Regions from separate parts of the Homo sapiens genome. Here all the other regions are linked to region 5. The links are contacts of gene promoters, found by promoter capture Hi-C in blood cells and fetal thymus (Javierre and others, 2016). All regions are on one chromosome and are shown on one strand. Each heading gives the region's core, a stretch centred on a gene start or on the middle of the fragment in contact. The rest is flanking DNA. Distances are from core to core; before and after follow the strand shown. Region 1 overlaps TRD-AS1 (TRD antisense RNA 1). Region 2 overlaps TRD-AS1 (TRD antisense RNA 1). Region 3 has its middle 150 kb from the start of TRD-AS1. Region 4 overlaps OXA1L-DT (OXA1L divergent transcript). Region 5 holds the start of LINC02332 (long intergenic non-protein coding RNA 2332). Region 6 overlaps SLC7A7 (solute carrier family 7 member 7).

The links. Contacts are between HindIII fragments. The CHiCAGO score rates a contact against its expected background, and 5 or more counts as called.
Region 1: a fragment that was not itself captured here is called in contact with the fragment with the promoter of LINC02332 in region 5 in 1 of 17 cell types (total B cells); the score reaches 6.0 in total B cells.
Region 2: a contact is called between a fragment that was not itself captured here and the fragment with the promoter of LINC02332 in region 5, in 3 of 17 cell types (total B cells, naive B cells and M0 macrophages). The highest score is 9.4, in total B cells.
Region 3: a fragment that was not itself captured here is called in contact with the fragment with the promoter of LINC02332 in region 5 in 1 of 17 cell types (total B cells); the score reaches 6.0 in total B cells.
Region 4: a fragment that was not itself captured here is called in contact with the fragment with the promoter of LINC02332 in region 5 in 2 of 17 cell types (M0 macrophages and M1 macrophages); the score reaches 5.6 in M0 macrophages.
Region 6: a fragment that was not itself captured here is called in contact with the fragment with the promoter of LINC02332 in region 5 in 1 of 17 cell types (erythroblasts); the score reaches 6.1 in erythroblasts.

Annotation. Positions count from the first base shown.
Region 1 is chr14:22,418,096-22,421,937 of GRCh38, forward strand. The region is part of intron 2 of TRD-AS1 (TRD antisense RNA 1); the gene reads right to left. It also overlaps TRA. Among named protein-coding and RNA genes, the nearest start is that of TRD-AS1, 63 kb to the right of the region's middle. The HindIII fragment of the contact is 4,339 bases long and covers 1-3,497 here.
Region 2 is chr14:22,398,625-22,402,536 of GRCh38, forward strand. All of the region lies in intron 2 of TRD-AS1 (TRD antisense RNA 1), which reads right to left. It also overlaps TRA. Among named protein-coding and RNA genes, the nearest start is that of TRD-AS1, 82 kb to the right of the region's middle. The HindIII fragment of the contact is 4,583 bases long and covers 86-3,912 here.
Region 3 is chr14:22,327,052-22,330,609 of GRCh38, forward strand. It overlaps TRA. Among named protein-coding and RNA genes, the nearest start is that of TRD-AS1, 150 kb to the right of the region's middle. The HindIII fragment of the contact is 6,538 bases long and covers 1-3,558 here.
Region 4 is chr14:22,721,065-22,724,975 of GRCh38, forward strand. All of the region lies in intron 1 of OXA1L-DT (OXA1L divergent transcript), which reads right to left. It also overlaps the pseudogene LOC100421646. Among named protein-coding and RNA genes, the nearest start is that of OXA1L-DT, 44 kb to the right of the region's middle. The HindIII fragment of the contact is 1,826 bases long and covers 1,422-3,247 here.
Region 5 is chr14:22,555,148-22,558,874 of GRCh38, forward strand. LINC02332 (long intergenic non-protein coding RNA 2332) reads right to left here and starts at 1,915. Exons shown (of 3, transcript NR_146543.1): 1 at 1,804-1,915; 2 at 1,645-1,706; 3 at 1,164-1,375. It overlaps LOC105370399 (a long non-coding RNA gene), which reads left to right and starts at 1,419. Exons shown (of 2, transcript XR_007064066.1): 1 at 1,419-2,419; 2 at 3,580-3,727. RefSeq lists enhancers at 251-380, 961-1,060, 1,111-1,450, 2,311-2,520 and a silencer at 1,561-1,610. The HindIII fragment of the contact is 9,123 bases long and covers 1-3,727 here.
Region 6 is chr14:22,795,327-22,798,933 of GRCh38, forward strand. All of the region lies in intron 2 of SLC7A7 (solute carrier family 7 member 7), which reads right to left. Among named protein-coding and RNA genes, the nearest start is that of SLC7A7, 18 kb to the right of the region's middle. RefSeq lists an enhancer at 1,188-1,257. The HindIII fragment of the contact is 480 bases long and covers 1,626-2,105 here.

The DNA.
Region 1 (3,842 bases), core at 78-2,577, 140 kb before region 5:
CACATGGGGCAACGTTATCCCCATTTTATTGTCCAGGAAACCGAGGCCTGGTGTGGTAAGTGACTTGCAAGTAAGAGGAGGAGTGAGATATAAACCCAGATTCCTGAATCTAAATTCAGTGGTCTGTACTGCAGCATAGCTGCCGCCTCTTGAGAACTAGAGTGGGCAGTGTGGAAGTGGGAATTCCCAAGTTCCCAGGCCTCTTCCAGCTCAGTCTTCTATGTAAAATTTTTCTTTTCCAGGCTTGTCTGAGCAGAGGTAGAGTGACCCTGCCGCCTGTTCCTCAACAGTCTGTGCAAATTCAAAGAAATAGAGTGTGAATTCAAGGAACTCATTTGAAGAACAGGAAAAGCAACTCTCTCCTTGAGGTTATCGGGGAAATGAAGGTTGAAACATGGATCAGAAGACTTGCTGAGGTCCCTTCCACCCTCAGCTCTTCCATTCTGTTCCCAAATGAGGCCCAAAACACAGCTTTCTCCATCACTCTTTAATCTGTTGGTTGATTTGTCTGGTGCACCCAACCAGCACTGTGGCCCTGAAAATAAAATGTTAATTACATCAATCTTACAGCCATCCATCGCTAGCCATCTGATGCTGATAGAAAGGCAGGAAGCACTCGTGGCAGTTTGCATATCAGGGTCAGCAGTTCCTTTCTTAACCCTCCTCTGTCTGGCAAGGCTAAGGGAGCAGACGTTCCTGTAATGACCTGGCCTGTCTTTAGAGCTGCAGCCCTAAGAGCTGGTTTTCTTCCTGTGGCTATGGTCTTGGCACTGAGCTCCTTCCTGCTCTTCTTTTGCTCTTGTGTGTAGCGGACCACAACATGCTTTCAGATCAGACATCCTGTGGGCAGAAGAAATTATTTCACTTCAATAAGAATTTTTGAAGACCAGTATGGGTTCAACGGGTGCTTTTGGGAGATTACACCAGAGATAAGAACAGACTAAATCACACGCGTGAGGCAGCATTTACAAATCATACAACACAATATGCAATAGCAGCTTCTGAGTTTCTGCAGAGGAAAGGCTAAGGACAGCAACCTGGTTGGAAGATGCCTCAGGAACTTGCCTTGAGGCTGTATTTTCATAGCACATAAGATTGGGAAAGACATCAAAGAATGGGAAACCTTCCATTCTGGAGAGATGGAGATTATGGGGGAGAATGGATAAAGCCCCCAAAAACACTCTTGCCTCTCCTACTAACTGTTCAAGTCTCAGGTATCATTATTTGTATGACAAAGAGAAAATTAACATCGTTAAGCAATGAGCCAAGTGTTTACAAGTATAATTTCATTTATTTCTCACAGAAATCCTATGAGTTATCTTCTCCCATTTTACGGAGTATAAAAAAATTAGTTTTTTCTAGAAATCACATGAAGGGACAGACATCCCCTTGGCAGGACCAAGGAAGCTGTGGCCTAATTGCTGGCCTTGACACGAAGGAATGACTGAGCACAAAGAACACAGCCTACACAGGGCCGGAGGAGGGTTGGGTCTGAGGGCAGAGCCCTGGTGGATGTTTCTGCCTTCCACCTGGGCACCCTGAGACAGGCTGTGTTTTTGTTGAAGTTCCATCTTGTCCTGCCACAGGCCCAGGCCAAGCTGACTGCTCCTGACCTGGTGAAGCACTAGCCACACTCTGCCCCAAGCTCCCGCCGCATCATCACCTGTCCTCTCCTGTACTGTCTTCTACCTCTGGCTTTGATTTATTGTTCATACCAGCTTTCTCTCTTAGTCAGGCCTAGAGGAAGGTTGTTTTTGGCCATTAGCAATAAATTCTTAAAATTCCCTCTAACCGGTGGAAGATATAAATCACAGTCATAAACATAATACACATTCTTGGGACTTTTCAAAATGACTTCCTGAATAATTTGAGATAGTTCAACAATAATTTTCTAGAAAGACAGGCTTATTTGAGCCCTGCTAACTACTCTTTTGATATTAATACAGCTTTAAACCCTCTATACTTCTTTCTGCCTCAAGGCTTTTTTAATACATGTCCTCATTTGTTACATAGAATGTTATTTCCCCACCCATGCCCCATACCTGTTTCAGGCAGGGTCCAAGCAGGAGACAGGGCACTCTCGGAGTGATTAGAGAGAGTTTAATGAAAGGGACTTTTACAAAGCTGTGGACAGGTGTTATGGATTGAAATGTGTCCCCCAAGGGACACATTAACTCTCAGTACCTTAGAATGTGATCTTATTTGGAAATAGGGTCACTGCAGATGTAGTTACCTTAAATGAGTTCATACTGGAGTATGGTGGGCCCCTAATGCAATATGACTGGCATTCTATATGACAGCCAAGTGAAGACAAAGACACGCAGGGAGAGAAAACCATGAGACAGTGCAGGCGGAGACTGGAGTGATACAGGTGCGAGCCAAGCCAAAGACCATCAGAGTTTCCAGCAAACCACCAAAATCTAGGAAGAGGTGAGGAAGGATTCCCCTACAGGTTTCAGAGGGTGCATGGCCCTGCTGACACCTTGATTTCAAACTTTCAGCTTCCAGAACTGTGAAACAATACGTTTATATTGTTTTAACTACCCAGTTTGTGGTACTTTGTTAAGGCAGCTACAGGAAATTAATACAGAAGGGTTATGGGAAACCAAAAAGAAGGTGGTGAAACACCCAGGGCTGGCAACAAAGAACCGCTGCCATGCCAGGCCTGAAGCGTGTAGGGGAGGAGCCTTTACTGAAACCTGCAGCTGTGGAAGAGGAGTTATAGCTTCCAGTGAAGGAAGGCACTCTCCTCCTTCCCTCCAGTCTCCTGAAGGTGTCTCCATTGGCCAAACCAAATGGGATGGAGAGCCGGTGGATGCTGCCAATTAAGGTCAGGCTCAGAGTAAGAAGTAGAGTGGATGTGCAGAGGCAAACAGACTCAGTCTCAACTGCAATGCCACTTCCTCTTCAGGGAAGCCTTCCCTGACCTCCTGACCAAACCTGGCCTCTGTAACATGCTCCCATAGTCCTTCTGCTTCTGCAGAATATTTATAGCTGCAATGGAGGGATAAATTATGCAAATTATTAAGTGATGACTGGCTCTCATGCTAGAACATAAGCTCCATGAAAGAAAACACTGTGTCTGCCATTCATCAATGGCAGACCCTGAATCCTCAGGGCCTGGCATATAGTAAGAATGACTAGGTTTTATAGGATGTGCCAAGAACTAAGCAGCCTGATAGAAAAAGGTCAAGTATTTAAGTCCAAACAGATTGACCTTGGCAACTTTCAAAGAGCTATAGACAGCAGACAGCATTATGTTCTGCTGGGGGACAGGGTTGCTGATGATATAATGTGTAACATCAAAGAATGTGACCACCTTGAATACTTGCTAATAGTCCTCCAAGAGCAGTAGGCAGGATGGGCAGTTGTGCAAAGTGAGGCGAGGCAGAGGTGGGTGGGGAGAGCAACTACTATGGGGTCAAGAAACTTCATCTGCTCCTATCTGAATTTTTTTCAGGGCAGTCTGTTCCCAGTCACACTGGGGAACTTAAGAAAGCTTAGATGAGTCTTTCCTCCACTAACCTGGGAATGTAAGTCCTGCATCCACCCTCCAATATGGAAGCCACCTTTGCTCTTGCCTTTTTGCTTACCAGGTGACTCTCTTCCCAGCTTCTGCTGCACTCTCTAGTTCTCATTATTAATTTACCTGTTTGATTTCAAAATTTCAAAGATTGACCTTTAAACTCAAAAGTGGAGGTCCCAAAAATCCTAACCTCCCCTCTTTTGAAGTCCATGTAAATTTAGCCCGTCATAAGTTGAGATGTAGTGGTGGTTTCTAAGTTTTTTACAATGTTTGGCTTTGTGTAATTTAACACAGGTAACCTAAGAACCCTTCAGAA
Region 2 (3,912 bases), core at 1,127-3,626, 160 kb before region 5:
AAATAATGATTACAATAACACCTACCTCAGGGGATTGTTGCAGGAATTAAGTGACCTATAGCACATGTTACTGTATTCAGAGCAAAGCTTGGAACATGAAAAGCACTCAGTGAGTATTAACTACTTTTGCTTTTGAGTGTGATAATATCCTGAGGATGATTACTAAATTTCCCCTGTGTTGGGCTGGGTTGAGCCTTTAGGAAGTTGTTGATAAGAAATGTCAGTCTCTTGAACAATTAAACATTATTTTCTACATTAGTATCCTATCTAGTAAGAAGTAAATATCAATGGAAATTCAGAGAAATACAATTCAAAAGGCCTTCAGGACCTTTTTCCTGGATGGCAATAAATTATTGAGGGCTTCCTATGTAGAAAAAAAAAAAACAGAGGAAAGTAATTTCTGCTTGACCATCATAAAATAAGCAAATATAGGCTTTGCGAGATATTAAAATACAACAGTAACCCCACTCATTAAATGAATAGAATAGTGGAATAATGTATAAATTTAAAGCCAAAAGTAAAATTAAAGTTGTTTATGCACATATTTTTGAAGTAAAATATTTGTTCTATCAACATAAAAGGCATAGTAGATGACCTGAAAAAGTTTCCACCTCCAAGAAGATAACAAATCAAGTCAAAGTCACAGTATGCCTGACGTTGTGTCATCCTCAAAAACTGGGAAGTCAGGATCAGTCCAAGACTCCAGAAGTGAGGAGGCTCTAAAAGACACCTCCACTTCAGCCTCTGCTTATTCAAGGCCCCAGCCATGGAAACTCGATGGTGTGAACTGCTGAGCTGAGAACTGGGGGTAAGTGAGGACTGTCTTCTCTGTTTTCTTTTCTGAAGACGCAGGGTCTCCTGCTAATTCGGATTCTGTGTTTTATTCATTAGTGGGAACACAAATCCCCTGCTATCTTGCTAGCTTTCTCATTTGCAGCCAACATATGGGTTTATCAGCACGGTTAGCCCCCCAAGAACAGCCCTTCAGGGACATGGGATAACACAAAATGGGAAATTCTTCTTGGAATAAAGAGTTGGGGAAGGATCCTTTGTAAAATTTGGTTTTGGGGTCAGATTTCAAAGTCTTAACCCTCATGGGACAGGCAGAGACTCGGGGATATTTGGTGAGTGACTGAGTCCCTATTCCTCCTGAGCTTGCCCTTCCCCAGGGCACCTCAGAGCCAGAACTGCTGAATGTTAACATGGGGCACTCAGGTTTCCTACAGGACACTTACAACTCTGGTAACCCTGCTGTATACTCTGCCAGTAAGGAACTACTTAGTAATTCCTCCGAGAGCCAACATTCAAAGACTAATGCCACGTCACATGCAATAGGGAAATGCAGCTCTATCTGTCATTCACATCTCTGATTCTGTCATTCATTACTCCATGCTAAAAGTCCCAGTGGGAGAAATTGTCTTTCTTCTTTTTCAAAACCAGCTTCTACTGAAGGTAAAGAAAAGTTTAGGGGTAGAAGAACAAAGTCATTACAGAACCATGCATTGATTGGTGAGCACTGCCCAGGGGCAGGTTTTGTGGTAATGATCCATAAGAAGCAAAGCAAAAATTATGGTGGAGTCGATGGAATATTTGAGAGTCTCTGCCCCAACCATCTCATAATCGAACTGGGAGCCCTCCAATCTCCCCATGCAAGCCTTGGAGGACAGTCATAGAAGAAAAAGTGAGCAAGAAGGTTTAACTAGCTAACAAGTGTTCATCAAGTATCCATAAATCTCAGGGTACAGAAGTGGCATTTTTGTATTCAATCATGTATATATTAGTGTTTGCTATGTGCTGTATCCCATGCCAAGATCCAAGCCTTCTTCCACTGTGTAACTCATACCGTAGCAGGGCTTACAGTCTAATAGAGGACCCAAATCAGATGCTTGTGGAAACAAGAGAAATACTTGGTTGTAATAATTATGGGGGTGTTCCAGGAGGAAAGTACAGATTGAAATTAGAATATTTCAATTTCAGGATGAGTTAGGTGATGGGAGCCAAGAAGACATGCTAAAGGAATTAAATCCTGAGCTGAGACTAGATATGAAAAAGTTTGTTTATTTACATCCCAAGTTCCCAAGTCAGTAACAGAAGCAGAATTACAACTCGAGAAAGGCCCCACTTGCTTCTATGCTGTTTTGCTCAGCAGCTGCTTCCTTTGGTGGCACACAGCTGGGAAAGTGAGTCACAGATGGACTATTGGCAGCCAAAATTTTTTTAGAGACAAATGACACTGTGATTTTTCCTGACACCCATTGAAATTCCTCACTAATTTCCAAAAATATCTTATGTTGTTTTAAAACATCCAGTGAGGCCCAGACATTTCAGTAGAACAAATCAGAGAAACAAAGTTAATTCCAGCCATCTGAGCATTCTGAGCCCAAATCAGCTAGACTGAGAAGAAGAATCGTTTACTTACCGAAGGCAGTCCCAGGACACCCAGCAGCTAAGGTCCTGACTCACAGCATTCTAACCAAGAGAAAACACAAACACAGCATCTTCTCTTTTCATTCACTTCTGTTCCTGTTCTTCAGTTGCTTGTCCAACCAGCTGGAGACACAGCAGAGAAACCATAAAGCAAAGAAAGCAATTAGGAACAGGAGAAACAGCTGATAAGCACTCTGCCTAGGTAGAGGTGAATCCTGGGCACCCATCAGGGAAAGACTTTGCCATTACTAAGGCTTTAGGTGAGGAGTTTGAGGGTTACGAATAAGAGATAAAGCAAGGAAAGGGCTTTTCTTTGCCAAATTTATCTTTTTTTCACCCATAAAACTCAAAGAGGATAGGGAAAGAATGAATGTATTCTCAAATCAAAGGAAAAATAGTTCTAAAACTTCCAATGAGTGAGAAAATCAGAAGTTCTGGCACTGACTCCCATTTATATTGAAGTAATACTATGGGTAAATATTTTATATCAAAGACCCCAGAGTGGCAGAGACCATCAGAGAATGGCATTAAACTGGGCACGCATAGTAGCCGATATGGGGTTAATTTGATTTGACCTTGGCATCTTTTCTCTTCTTAAAGTCCTCCCATCCTTTCTTTATCCTGTATAGACAAAGAAGACTGGGGTCTAACTTTTATGTGTCTTCCATCCTAAGCTGCCAGAGACAGTCCTTTGCCAAAGGGCACAGTAGATTGATACTGCCCATATGTCTCTGACACGGCTCCACTCAGCTCATTCATTTATCTACCCAAGTCCTACGGCAGCCTAACATGGCTCAACAGACTGCTGTTTCCCTCAGAGGAATGTTCTGTGCCAGCCTTGAAATAACAAGTTCTGTGTCTCTCCTGGTAACTATGGCTCAGGCAGGGGGCTATGACCAGGTCACTAACCCCACCATGGCAAAGAAGAAAAGACAAGGCAAAGAAGCCAATATCTGTGGAGGGCTTACAAATGAGTACCTGGCACAGGAATAAGCCCTTCACAAGTGTTCTCTCATTTCAACCTCACAGCATCCCTGCAAGGTAACTATAATTACCCCATTTGCAAATAAGGAAATCAAGACTCAGAGTTGTAATTTGTCCCGCTACTGGTAAGTCACAAAGCAAGATTCAAAACCATGGGCTAGTAGACCTGCAAAGTCAGTGCTCCATTTACATGTAGGTAATATGGGCACTGATACCACCTAGGCAGTGAGCCACAAGCTATTACAAGCAGGTTCTATCCAAGTGGGAGGCACCTTGCTCTAGGTACCTAGCAGGTTCTATCCAAGTGGGAGGTACCACCTGCTGCAGAGTGCCCCACTTCTCCCTGCACCTAAAACAGTGGATAAAAGACCTGGATTTCCCATGTTTTATCCTGAGTTGCTGGCAAATTCTTTCCTAATCTCAGTCTTCACTAGATAAGCAACCAACCCTCTTGGTTCCTTGAGAGTTGGGGCGTCTAGAAATCCTGCCTGGACTAGCAAA
Region 3 (3,558 bases), core at 703-3,202, 230 kb before region 5:
TTGAGGAAACAATATATGAATAGCCTGTCTGGCTTAGATAAAGAGTAAAGGCAAGAGACCAGGTGCGGTGGCTCACGTCTGTAATTCTGGTCCTTTAGGAGGCAGAGGTGGGCAGATTACCTGAGGTCAAAAGTTTGAGACCAGCTTGACCAACATGATGAAACCCTGTCTCTACTAAAACTACAAAGAAGTAGTTGGGTGTGGTGGCACATGCCTGTAATTGCAGCTATTCCAGAGGCTGAGGCAGGAGAATCACTTGATCATGGGAGGCGGAAGTTGCAGTGAGTGGAGATCACGTCACTGCACTCCAGCCTGAGCAACAGAACAAGACTTCGTCTCAAAAAAAAAAGTAAAGACAAGAATAAGTATCACCCATATGGCATGACCAAAGTTTTTGGTAAACCTAGGGTTTTTTTTCTGTTGTCAGTAATAAAATTGCCCTTAAAAACTAGTTTTTATTTCTCATTCCTGAACTCATTTACATATAATGTCGAAGTATGATAAATTCAAACTATGCTGACACCTGTACGAATGTGGCTTAGTATGATATAAAGTCTTTATACTTTCACCAACTTCAAACCTCAGTTTCTACTGTTATAAAGTTCATTTCACTCTCTCTTGTGACCATTTAAATACTTTCACATATTTCATCGCATTTTTCATCTTCTAGGGCTGAGGACTCCTAATTCTTAAGAATATTTCTGTTATCCCTATAATTACTGTCGTGTCTCTCCAGGCATTCTTTTTTAGTGAACAGTTGTCATTAATCACTTCCAGAAAGGATTCAAACACCATCTCTACATTTATCCTTCCAAGTGCTGTGACTATTGCCTTGCGAACTACATTTTCCAGGCTCCCTTGCAGCTAAGGTGCAGATCTGTATTCAGCCAAGTATTTGATTGGGAGATGAGCCATATGAGGAACAGGTTAGGCAGGGGCATCCCTTTTCTTGGTTTAGGGGCAGTGGAGGCCATGTGGTCTGGGTTAGGCAGCAACAGCATCTTCTTGATTGGGCCAGGAGCAGTAACTTCCTGTTTGGGCCCATTTGGCTGCATATTCTGTTGCTGGCAGCACTGGAGGCAGCTGGCATAGGGATAGGACTGCAGCCTTCTTATGAGGCTGATGGATGGGTGGTTCTGGGCATCACTCCTGGAAGTCGAGCCTAGAATCTTTTTCTCCAGTCTGCCCAATGATTCTATGAGCCTTCTGCCTCCCCAAATCCTGATCTGCTTACACTAGGTAAAGCGATTTCCTTTCTTTCTTGTCCCTTAGCACACAGATATCTCACAGTGTTTAGTCTGAGACCCACCACAGCTTTCATTCCAGCATCCTTTAAGCTGAGTATCAGACCTGGTTCACTTTTTCACTGCAGTACACTTGGCTCATTCCAATGAGGATGACTTCATGTTTATAGTGATTTCTGGTTCCTTTGCTTGGAAATCCTAAAAGATAGAAAAGAGTCTCCAGTTGCTGCAGACGCAGGCATGAGATATACCGAAAACTCTCCAAAATTGTCTCTTGGAATGTTTCTTCATTACTTCACTAGGTTTCTTTCTAACCTTCAGAGCTAGTAAGGACCTTGGATTAAAAGGGCCATTGAATTTCTAGTTTAGTTAAGAAATATTTTCCTCATTTCATGGGAGTGGGGAAGCAGTGCAGACTAAACTCAGAGCCCACATCATGTTGTTCTTACCAGTTCAAATCAAATCACGGTTTCCAGTCACTTGGCTAATATTTATCCTTCTTTAAATCTTGATGAAATGTCTCTTCCTCAATGAACACTTCTCTGCCCCTCAACCTAAATTTGTTCCCCTCGTGTTACTGTTTTAAAGAACCCTGTAATTTCTATGTATTTCTGTGTGATTATTTGTATAATATCTGTCCTTCCTATTAACCTCTAAGTTCCACTAAATGCTCTGTGTTCAGAATAGTGCCTGGCACAAAGGAGTATGACAAATAGTGATGAGTGAATGAATCTGAGCCATCAGACATGTATCTTACTTTGTGTTGGGCTGTCCCTCAAGTGTAGATGTTCCTAGTGACAATCCCATTAATTCAAACACTGACTGGAGAGGATTGAAAACATATGAAGCAGTGCTTTTGGAACTGAGGCTGTAGTCCAATATGACTGGAGATAAAAAATGAAGACTTTAAAAACAGAATTCACATAAAAGCAGGTATCAACATGGAAAACTGCAGAGGATGCCTGTATACACAGTGGGCACAGCAGCAGCATTAGACCAATCACCTCCAAACTTGAGGTTCCAGGCTGAGGTGACAGATCAGAGTGAACCAGGCACTGTAGAACAATGGGAACACTTAGATTCCTGACACTGGAATTTGCTGATTCTTCTACTAACGTGTAGCAAGAAATTTAGCCTTACCCAAAGTCAGGTCTGGTCTTTGTCCCAGTTCCTGGGAGATAACCTCTGAAGGCTCGGAATTTCCTGAATTGTTGGCATGTCTTTATAATTGATGGTGGGGTCCTTGGACCGCACTTAATAGTTTCTGCTATCAAGATGACTCATTGTGAGGCTGGCCACAATCAATGGTCTCAGGATGGGGGCTGGCCATGCCAGAAAGACCAACCATATAACATAGGGTGGAGGGTTTGTGTCACAACCTAGAGAGTGAGTTCAACCACACAGGCTATCAGTCATCTGATATAATGAAGCCCCAATAAAAACTCTGGACACCAAAGCTCAGCTGAGTTTTCCAGACTGGCAATATTCCATGGGTATTGTCACGCCTTGATGCTGGGAGGGTAACTCATCCCTGAGGACAGTGGAAGTTTCACGTTTGGAACCCTACCAGACTCTGCCCTATGCATCTCATCCCTTGGCTGCTTTTAATGTATCCTTTCTCTGTAATAAACGAATCACAAGTATACTAGGTTTCAATGAGTTCTATGAGTCTTTCTAGTGAATTATGGAACCTGATTTAGGAAATACCCAACCTTGCCATTGGTGCCAGTAGTGAGAGTGGTCTTGCATGAACTTATCTCCCCTTTGTAGTTGAGTCCTAGCGACTTACAGTTGGGGGCAGAAGTCTTATGTAGATTTAGTCTGGAGGTCTATGACCTTAACCTTGCAGTTTGGCTAACTCTGGGTAGCTACATTTTGTATTGAGCAACTCTATATGAATAAAAGAAGTTTTGTTCATATAATGCCTTAACAGTGAATCAAGTATATCAAGAAAGTTTTTTAAAAGTTAAAAGTAGGCAAGTCTACTGGTAATAAAGTAGGCAAGTCACAAGGTAATTAAATGCCTACGTTTCAATGATTACACATGTTGCTTAGAACATACACATATATGAGATCATCACGTTAAAATATTTCTAACACACAGGCTGGCAACACCTAACAATAATAATAATTAGTAATTGTCTAGTTCTTACTACTAACTGGTTTCTGTTCTGAGTGTTCTACATATATTAACTAATTTAATTCTCATAAGAACTCTGGTTATTAGCCAGGTTTGTAGAAGCTGAGGCACAAGGAGGTTAAATACTTCGCCCTATGGCACACTCCCAAAATTTGAATCCAAACCATCCAACTC
Region 4 (3,911 bases), core at 1,085-3,584, 170 kb after region 5:
ACAGATAAACATAAAACATGAACGAGAAGAAAAGTTTAGGTAGAAAATTATCTTATTTAAGGTGTGTAGAGTTGTTTTAATGGAAAAAATATGAAAAAATAAATGTAAATTTGGCTATGTAAAGTTTTTAAAGTTCTTTAAGTCAGAGAAAAATAATGTAATGGCCATATGCAGTTTCTACCTGCCTAGCATCCATTACCCATTCTTACCCTAATAGGATCCTGATTTTTCTCAAGAAAGCCCCTTTCCATTCTCAGTCTATGTAGCCCAGGTGGCACTGACTTCATTCTCAATGAATCAGAGCACGACCATGGTTATTGGCTTAGGGATGGCCTCACAACCATCTAATCAGGCCAATGAGACGAAATGAGTCAATTCAGAGACACTTATGAGAACTGATGGGAGAGAGGCTCTCTCTCTCTCTGAACTTGAAACTGGGAGAATGTAGACCTGAAAAAAGTAAAAACCACTTTCCAAATCATTTTAAGAGGCTAACAAAACCTTGATATCAAAACTGAAAAGGACATGACAGTAAAGAAAAATTACAAACGAATCTTTCTCACAAACATAGCTACAAAAATCCTAAATATCAGCATACTGAATGAAATGATACACAAAAAAAATAATGCATCTTGCAGGCATGGTGGCTCACGCCTGTAATCCCAGCACTATGGGAGGCTGAGGCAGGTGGATCATGAGGTCAGGAGATCGAGACCATCCTGGCCAACATGGTGAAACCCTGTCTCTACTACAAATACAAAAATTAGCTGGGCATGGTGACATGCACCTGTAGTCCCAGCTACTCGGGAGGCTGAGGCAGGAGAATTGCTTGAACCTGGGAGTTGGAGGTTGCAGTGAGCCAAGACTGTGCCACTGCAGTCCAGCCTGGTGAGAGAGTGAGACTCCATCTCAAAAAAAAAAAAATAGTTCTTTGCTGGTGCAGTGGTTTGCACCTGTAGTCCTAGCTACTAGGGAGGCTGAGGCAGCATGATCACTTGAGTCCAGGAGTCCAAGGCTGTATTTCACTAAGATCTAGCCTGTGAATAGCCACTTCTCTCCAGCCTGGGAAATAGAGCAAGACCCCATCTCTAAAAATAAAAATAAAAAAAAGAAATAACTCTTTATCACACTCTTAAGTTAAAGAAATATTTGTAATCTATTAAAGAGCAACTATAGAAACCTATAGCAAACATCATACTTTGTCGTAAAATGTTGAAAGATTACCTTCTGAGATCAGGAATAAATCACCATGCTATCACCCACTTCTACTGTACTACAGTTGCTATCCAATGCATTATAGCAAGAAAAAGAAATTAAAGGACTAAGTATTGAGAATGGAAGAAATAATGCTATTATTATCACCACTGATATGCTCTTGGAATTAATAATTTCAATTGATACAAGTTCAGTCCACAAAAAAAAGCTTTGTTTTATATATCAGCAAAAAATAGTTAGAAAATTAAAATGTTTATTTGTTAGTCCATTCTCATACTGCTATAAAGAAATTCCAGAGACTGGGTAATTTATAAAGAAAATAGGTTTAATTGGCTCACAGTTCCACAAGCTGTACAGGAAGCATGGCAGCATCTGCTTCTAGGAAGGCCTCAGGGAGCTTTGATTCATGGTGGAAGGCAAAGGAGGAGCAGGCATCTTGCATGGCAGGAGCAGGACCGAGGGCAGGGGGAGGTGCCACACACTTTCAAACAATCAGATCTCATGAGAACTCACTATTGTGATGACAGCACCAAGGGAGATGGTGTTAAACCGTGAGAAACTGCCCCCATGATCCAATCACCTCCTATCAGGCCCCACCTCCAACACTGGAGACTACAATTGAACATGAGATTTGGGCAGGGACATATCCAAACTATGTCAGTTTAGGAGCTAAGTGCAGTGGCTCACACCTGTAATTCCAGCTACTCAAGAGGATGAGGAAGGCTGAGCATGGTGGCTCACGCCTGTAATCCCAGCACTTTGGGAGGCCGAGGCAGGTGGATTGTGAGGTCAAGAAATTGAGACCATCCTGGCCAACATGGTGAAACCCCGTCTCTATCAAAAATATTAAAAAATTAGCCAGGTGTGGTGGCATATACCTGTAATCCCAGCTACTTGGGAGGCTGAGGCAGGAGAATTGCTTGAACCTGGGAGGCAGAGGTTGCAGTGAGCCGAGATTGTGTTACTGCACTCTAGCGTGGGTGACAGAGCGATACTCCCTCTCAAAAAAAAAAAAAAAAAAGAGGATGAGGAATGAGGATCACTTAGGGCCAGGAGTTTGAGACCAGCCTGAGCAACATAGCAGGAACCTGTCTCTAAAACAATTTTTAAAAATTAGCCAGCAGTGGGGACAATCAGTGACAGCAGGTGGTCTCTAAGCCCAGTTGCCGCCTAATCTTTCCCTAACTTTGGGTGCTACCTTTAGAGGGGACAATTGTGGGCAGAGAAGCTGCATCTAGATGGCTGTGAGAGGCAGGAGGGGTTCCTGGGGGCTCAGCTGGCTCTGCAGGGGAACAGGGGATAGGAGTCAGGATTGTCCAGGAGGGTGGCCAGTAAGGTAAGAGGTTACCTTACTGAGAGGTTACCAGAATAGGGCTCCTACCTGAGCTCCACACCTGCAGGGCCCCAGGCAGGACCTCCCTAGTGGTAGCTTCCACAGCTACAGGGCAAGTGAAGCAGGAGGGGCAGAGCTGATCTTGCTTGTCTGAAGGGCTTGAAGCCAGCACCCCTGGGCACGGGCTGTGAAACCAAGGAGCAGCCTGTGGAACCCCCATCATCCACCCTCTACAGAGGGCTCATAGAAAAAATTGTAATGTTCCTCCCAGCTTCTCCCTCTATCCACTTTTGAACAGAGTAGATTGCCTTGCTAGGCCCAGAGCCAACTTTGACAAGAAGCGGTCAGGCTGAATCTTCAACCCATAGCAGAGCAAGGTCCCCCTGGCCACCCAGAAATTCAGCACTCTGGACAACACAAAGAGGAAGCATTTACTGGCACCTTTTCCTCCACCCATTTCTGTACTAATAGAAATTTCTGTGAGGATGGAAATGTTCTATGTCTGCATGATCCAATGTGGTAGCCCCTAGTCACATGTGACTGTTGGGTACCTCAAGTGTGGCTAGTGCAACTGAGGAAATGAAATTTTAACTTTATTTAATTGTAATGTCTTTTCCTAAATGACAAAGATTTGTTTTTATGTTATGGGTGCTGTGAATCATTACAAGATCACATTTCTCTCTGTGCTGGCTGCTAGGAAGCTTGTCAGTTTTGGATCCTATGGTTGCAAGAGTATATAGCCTCATGGCATGCGCCTTTAATATAACCTCATTCTCAGCTTCCTTTTATTTTTACTTTTTCCCATTGCCCTGCTTAATTTTTTATCTTGTCAATGTGGTAAGCCTTGAATCCTTTGTGCTGGGATAACAGGTGTGAGCCACCACGCCTCCTGGCCCTAGAATGAAATTTTTAACTCAAAACTAAACTATAAGCTATTTATAGGAGGTAAAAGGATGAAAAAATATATACTAGAAAAACGTTAACTAAAAAAATCGGCATACGTTTATTAATATTAGGTAAAATAGACTTTAAAGCCAAAAATAGCATTATGAAGATGAGGAGGATCATTGCTTGAAGGGGTGGGTTGCCCCTCCACACCTGTGGGTGTTTCTCGTTAGGTGGAACGAGAGACTTGGAAAAGAAAAAGACACAGAGACAAAGTATAGAGAAAGAAATAAGGGGACCCAGGGAACCAGCGTTCAGCATATGGAGGATCCCGCCAGCCTCTGAGTTCCCTTAGTATTTATTGATCATTAGTGGGTGTTTCTCCGAGAGGGGGATGTGTCACAGTCACAAGACAATAGTGGGGAGAGGGTCAGCAGACAAACACGTGAACAAAGGTCTTTGCATCATAGACAAGGTA
Region 5 (3,727 bases), core at 665-3,164:
TACCAGCCTGGACCCAACCTCAGGCCGACATCCCAGCAGGGAACATGTTACTAAGGCCAGTTGTAGAAGGGACTTCTCTGGACACATGCCCTACTCTCCCAAAAGACTTAAGCACAGGCCAGTCCCAAAGGCAGAAGAATGGACTAAATGAGCTCTTGTGGCCCCAGCCCTAAGATTCTAGAGGACTCTCTGAAACTTCACTTGAAGACTTGACCTCTGAGTGCAACTGGAGTCACAGCCACTCAGGAGAAAGGGCAGGCTATGCAAGCACGTGCTTCAGGAGCATCCTGGTGAGGTCTTCAGCTCTGACAGAGCAACCCCTCTGCTGCTACCCTCACTGGGGGCAGCCATCTGAGTCTTAAGGAGTTGCTTATTTTTTAGGTCCAAACATAAAATTCAACTCCCCTGGGATCACGTATACAGACAGGCCTATAGCACCTTATTATCAGGTACCATCCTAGTGTGGAAGTCCCCTGGCCTGTGTGCTCTGTGGGATGGGAATGTCCCTTGTCATCAATGTGTCCCCAGGAACTAGAACAGTGCCTGGCACACAACAGATGCCGTTAAATGAATAAGTGAATGACTCCTGCAGTTAGGCTCTGGGTGGGGGGAGCTGAGTGTGAGGAGTGGGGAGTACAGGAGAAAGGAAAGTGGGGATTAGTAGAGGAAGTGGTCAGGTGAGTCAATGCTTCACAGTTTTGCCAAGAGCTAAAGTAACTTGTCAAGAACTTCAGAACAAGGAAAGCCTGAGTGGTGGCCCCTTGCTCAGGGCAGCCCCCAGGCAGGCACACATCTATCCAACAAAGCCTGGAGGACAGGGACTGTGGTAAATCACGCAGGGTACCTGGGAGTCTGACCTCACTGTGTGACCACACTGAGGTCCAGAGCCAACAGTCACTTTATGTGGGTTCGCCTCAGTTTCTCCATGAGTCCTACTCTAAAACCCATCTACCTCCGTGAGCCATGTGTGGGAAGACGAGCTTCTGACTGGGATGAGTCTGGGGGAGCAAGCACATGGAGACCCAGTGCTGTCATTCTGGCTGCCGGAAGGCTGCAGGACCACCAGCGCCCTGCGTCTGTGTCAAGGCCACCTGGGCAACGCGGCGAGGGGTGGGGAGTGCAGGCCTCCTTTCACACAGAGACACACAGGCCTGAGGCCTCTCTGGGTAGCACACATAGAGCTATATTTTGCAATTAATAAACAGGTCAGACATTGAGTCAGTAGCCACAAGTAGAACAGGAAGTGGAAAAAGTCTCCCACTTCCCTCCAGGTGTTTGGGGGCTGGGGCGGTCCCCTCCCATTTCCATGACGTCATGGTTACCAAGAGGGGCAAGTAGGGCACCCTTTGAAGCTCTCCCGCAGAAGCCACATCCTCTGGAAAGAAGAGTTTAAAATACTGAGTTAGAGATAGCATCGCCCCAGGCCACGTGCCGAGGGGAGCAGGCTGGGCCGTTACACCACCCCCCAACCGCAGGTGCAGCAAGGCCAACATGCCAGGCTGGGAGGGGCTGCCGGCCCCTCGGTGACTTGCACCGGGCCCGCAAGCAGGCTGGGGAGGTGCTGCTGGCCCCACCGCTGAGCCGCCTCCCTCACCGCACCTCTGCTGCCCCTCCAAACCAGCCAAGATCAGACCTTGATCTCACCTGATTAAGCGCTTGCTTAGTACAGGGCAGACCCTCGAGACTTATGCTCAGGCCAGTGTCTCCTGGGAGGGAAGGAGGTGGGGAGGCCGTATTTGCCCCCACACAGAGCTAGGGCTGATTCTCTGAGGGACCCCCCCCCAATAGCACCTCCCCCCTTACCCTGATGCTTGTCCATTAGGTGATGGCCCTAATGGACGCCTTGATGGACACGTCCGGGACCCAGGGACCCGGAGACCAGGAATCTGCTGGTCTCAGGGAGCCGCAGAACCTGAAACCCAAAAATACCAGGCTTGATCGCCTGCTCTTCGGTAGTGTCGCCATCCACCCGCATGGGGGCAGCAGCGCTCCACCAAAAAGACCTCTTCTCCCTTTGTCTGTTAATTCTGGAGATAGAAAGCCCCCAAAGTTTAGGAAAAGCTCTTTTCCGAGGAAAATAAAAGGGCAGGTGACTTTTATCCCACAAGTCCCTGCCCTGTGCCCGTCACTGCGCTGGGCGCAAGGCCTGTGTCATCCTGTCACATCCCCCCCCAAAGGAGAGGAGGGCCTGGGGCCTGGGCCGGCAGCAGGGGGCGCTGTTCGTCCGGGATCGTCAGACCCGCTCCACCCGGAGCCCTGGAGGAAGTGCCCAGGGAGGGCTGGGGGCCCGGAGGAGGCCTTGGGTTCGGAATTAGGCTGGCTGGAGTCCGGGATCCACCACATCATACACTCGTGCCTTTGGCAGGTCACTAACCGCCCACCGCCTCAGTTTCCCGGTGGGACGAACTCTCTCTCACAGGTAGTTTAAGAACCAGGCTTTCTTTGGCATTGTATACCTGCCATGTGCCAGGCTGTGTCGTGCTCTGGGGATTCAGTCTCTGTGCAAACTATGACTCCATACAGATGAAGTCCAAGAACAGGCAAAACGCATCACAGGTGATAGAAATTAGGGCACTGTTTGCCTCTGGGGTAGAAGGATGGATTGAAAAGGGGCACGAGGAAACCTTCAGGGGTGGTGGAAATGTTCCATATCTTTATCTTGGGTGATGGCTATATATATATCAAATGCATCATTAGTGTATTTTCATGTAATTATGCCTCAAGAAAGTACTGCTCCCATTAAATACACACACACACACACACACACACACACACAGAGTTTCTGTCTTCAAGGAGTTAACAGTCCAGTGAGTAGTGGGTATGAAAGAGATGTGTTAATGGCTGCAATTGCAAGACAGAGGCTTTTGTTACTATATTCTCCTCAGGCAGGAGTCCTCAGGCAGGAGGCAGGAGAACCAGTTGTTTGTCCCTAAGCGTCACTGCCCCTCACTAGCCTTCTCTCCTGGGGCCTTTAATTTTTCTGAGTCCCCATGTGTTATTATTCACATAGAGATAAAAATACCTGCCCACCTATTCTCAGTGTTGTTGAAGGGATTGAAAGCAGTAATGGGTGTGGAATGCTTAGTAAACTGAAATCCCAGTGCAAATATGAAGTGGGAATGCATCAGAATGCCCAGGAAGACGAACCATGACCCGAACAAGATGGGCTGGGCCAGGTCAGATGGCACTGCCATACTGAGAAAAAAGTGGGCTGGCTGCGGCTTCACACAGCCCGGGAGAGCTCAGAACTCCCCAGGCCCTGCCGGTGCGCTGGTGTTTCTCATAGTATGTGGCCACCTCTCCAGTCACTTCGGCCCTAGGAGCTTCTTGTTACACCATGATTTTGTCACTACCTCCGCAGCTTCCCACCTCCTGCTTCCGGCTTCCAGAAGGAAGCGCGTGATGGAGGGGAAATGACAGGGCCAGGAGGCAGCGGTCAGGCTGGGCCGAGTTTCTGACAGAAGCCAACACTTCTGGCCCCACAGTGCTCACGGCCTCCCTGACTCCTCACCACATCACAGCTGAAAAGGCTCACGTCTTATCTCCCCTCTCAACCTCTGGGGGCTTCTCTGCTTTCAGAAGGAGCCCCTGGAGCCCCTGGCCGAACACATCTGAAAGCACGGAGCCAGACCTCTGCAGCGCCCTCCAGCGGGCAGGTTCTGCGGGCAGCCATCTCCTCGCAGGCCAGAACACCCCACGTCACTCCAGGACGGTTCGCCACCTTTGA
Region 6 (3,607 bases), core at 616-3,115, 240 kb after region 5:
CCAAAATGCTAGGATTACAGGTGTGAGCCACCGTGCCCAATCTGAGTATTGCTTGCTTGCTTTCTTTCTTTCTTTCTTTCTTTCTTTCTTTCTTTCTTTCTTTCTTTCTTTCTTTCTTTTCTATTCTTTTCTTTTCTTTTCTTTTCTTTTCTTTTCTTTTTTAATTGAGACAGAGTCTCACTCTGTCGCCCAGGCTGGAGTGCAGTGGTGCAATCTCGGCTCACTGCAAGCTCCGCCTCCCGGGTTCACACCATTCTCCTGCCTCAGCCTCCCGAGTAGCTGGGACCACAGGCGCCTGCCACCACACCCAGCTAATTTTTTGTATTTTTAGTAGAGACGGGTTTCACCATGTTAGCCAGGATGGTCTCAATCTCCTGACCTTGTGATCTGCCCGCCTCGGCCTCCCAAAGTGCTGGGATTACAGGCGTGAGCCACCGTGCCCGGCCTTGTTTTCTTAATTCTCCAGATGATTCCAATCCACAGCCAGAGTTAGGACCCACTGCTGCCCAGCATCTTCCGCAACCTCCTCTAGGCTACCTGCCCAGCTTCTTCTGAGGCAGAGAGAAAAAGAAAGGAACATAGAAACATAGAACATAGAAAGGAAGAGAGCAAGGATGAGCCCCCAAAGGGACTTGATGATCAAAGCAGCATAAAGGTCTACCCCTTCACTGCTGGTCAAGAGTTTGTTCCAAAGTTCACAACAAACCCACACTAGAACCCAAGGCTCTGATGAAAGCCTATTTCTTGAGGTGAATATGGGCCAGAAAAGGTAAGTTTCTTCACCTCCACCCTCAGATGGCTCTTGGGAAAAGCCCTCTGAAAAAGGCAACTAGCTTCCAAGTAGAAGGTTCAAAGGGCAAAAGTCCGTTGGGGGGCCCAGCATCTGACTGTTCCACCTCATTAGCCACAAGTACATGAGATCAGTCATTCTGGTACCAGGAGAAGCTGCACGAGGACACCTGGCCAAAGCTCTCAGACACACAGAGATCCAAAGTCCTTCACAGCCCACAGCGGCTCTGGCAGACTCAGGGTAAGCTGTCTGCCCCCTTCCCACAGCAACCCTCAGCCCCCACCAGCACCCTGAAAGGCAAAAGCACGAAATACCCTTCTCAGCCAAGTTGAACCTGGAATCATATCTTCTGTTCATTCATCCAGCCAACATTTATTGAAGAACCCACTACATGCAATTCACTGTGGCCACATGTGTATGACACGAAGAATCTTTGCCTGATCCCTGAAGAACAGTACTCTGTAAACAAAGAGCCCTGAACTGCCAGGTACTGCTGACTCACTGGTACAGGGGACATACTGAAGGCATAGATGGTAAAAATGTCCTGGTAGTGTCCTGAATGGCAAAACAACTAGGTCTCAGTGTGGGCAAGTGTAGGTAAGGCAAGAACAGTCATGTCCACCTGTGAACAGTGGGCCAAAACACCTTGGCTCTGAGGAAAGGACAGTCGGGTGGAGCTGGACTTCTGGACACCTATCCTCTTGCTGAGAGGAAAGTTCCACCTCTCTTGCAAAACAGAAAGAAAAGGCTCAGCCCTCCTTTCTGATCCCTGAGCTATTGTGAAGTAAAATGTAAACTGCTTTTAAGTCATCCAAAGACAGCATGCGGAAGGTAAAGCTTTTAGAAATCAATAAGATGCATATGATATGAATATAACTTGCAGTAATAGATACTATTTTTAACTGACAACTGTGTGCCAGGTCACTATGTACTTACACCTATCTTCTAATTTAATCTGACAGAGAGTAAGTTTTATTATCTTTATTTTACACTTGAGAAAACTGAGGTCAGGCAGTGACTAGCTCCAAAGCCTACATCCATTCCACCACACCACATACCTCCCTAACTGTATGCAAGAATGTGAGACGGGGAGTGGGATTATCTCCCCCTGTGGTAATGGAGATGCCTAGAACTTCAGAGCACTGGGGCAGTCCACGAATTTCTCCAAGAAGTCAGAATAAGCAGCTTCAGGAGGTGCCATCTGCACACCTCTCTGTTTGGGAAAAGCAACCATTTCTACTACCCTAGACAGGACAGTGAGGCTCCTTCAAAACTCAGAATTCCTTCACTCACTCACTCATTCATTCATTCATTAAGCTTATATTGAGTACCCACTGTGTTCCAGGCCCTGTGCAGGCTCTGAGATTAAGATCCAGTCTCCAGCCTTCACTCAAAAGTGGACATTGACAATTACAAGAATCAGTTGCTATGAAAGTCACTGAGAGGCAACCTATCTACCCACACGTCACTGGAGGAGTGAATGGGGTGCAGGCAAGCACCAGGATCACTGTTATCTGGACTGAGTGCATGGAGGCTGCTGCTGGGGTGGGGGAGGGGAAGCAATATTCCTGACAGAGAGGGCAAAACGTTATTACCCTGACAATGAAATCAGCAATGAATGAAGTCAACCACCCGTATAAAAAAACCTACTTAAGCAATAACCAGTAAATGATTTCAAGGTCTATTAGTAATACCAGACTATCTAGGGCTGTAGTTCAACAGCTCTAAAGGTAGACTATGCCTGCCAAAAGACTGCAAACAACTGGCAGGAGCAGAGACTCTGTGTTTGCTCTTTGGAAACTGTCATGATTTGAATAGAAAAAGATGAAAATATGGTACAAATATAGATCACATTTCTATGAGGTAGGGACCCCATTTTATAGAAGAGAGAACTGAGGGCTGGGCACGGTGGCTCATGCCTGTAATCCCAGCAATTTGAGAGGCCGAGGAAGGTAGATCACCTGAGGTCAGGAGTTTCAGACTAGCCTGGCCAACATGGTGAAACCCCATCTCTACTAAAAATACAAAAAATTAGCCGGGCATAGTGGTGGGCACCTGTAATCCCAGCTACTCGGGAGGCTGAGGCAGGAGAATCGCTTGAACCCAGGAGGCGGAGGTTGCAGTAAACTGAGATTACGCCACTGCACTCCAGACTGGGCAACAAGAGTGAAACTCTGTCAAAAAAAAAGAAGAAGAAGAAGGAGAAGGAGGAAAAGGAGAAGGAGAAGGAGAACAAGAGGAAACTGAGGCTAATAAATTTGACCTAGCATTGATTGAATCCTGCCTGATTCCACGCTGTTCACCACCATGCACCAGTGCCTTCCAAAGGGATAAGGGTATCCCCTACACTGTTCAAGAAAAAGAAGTCTGACTCAGGGCACCCAATCATTACAGCCATGGAGAAGGCATCATTGTAGGGTAGAGATATTTCATCCAACTTTTCCAGAAACATACCTCAACCAACCTAAGGCAGGCTTAACTCTTTTTCATAAAATCGTCCCTCAACCTTGGTCCTTTCCTCTAACAATCACCCTCCATGCTTTCAGAATCATTCATCTGAAGAGCATGTCTACATTCCTTCCCGTTCCTGGGTCTCTACAATGCAGTCTGAGATGTTGCAACTCCTTCCTCTTTCACCCTGCAAAAGTTTTCCTTTGACCCTCTGAGTTGCCAATTCCAAATGACATTTTATTCCTTATTTTAAACTTAATAGCTCCTCCAGAAAGGCTATTTTTGAGTGTAAACCTGCCACCTCTGGTATGCTGCCCTTGCTCTGTGCTCTCACCTCCCCAATTAACTACACTGCATTAGAACAGT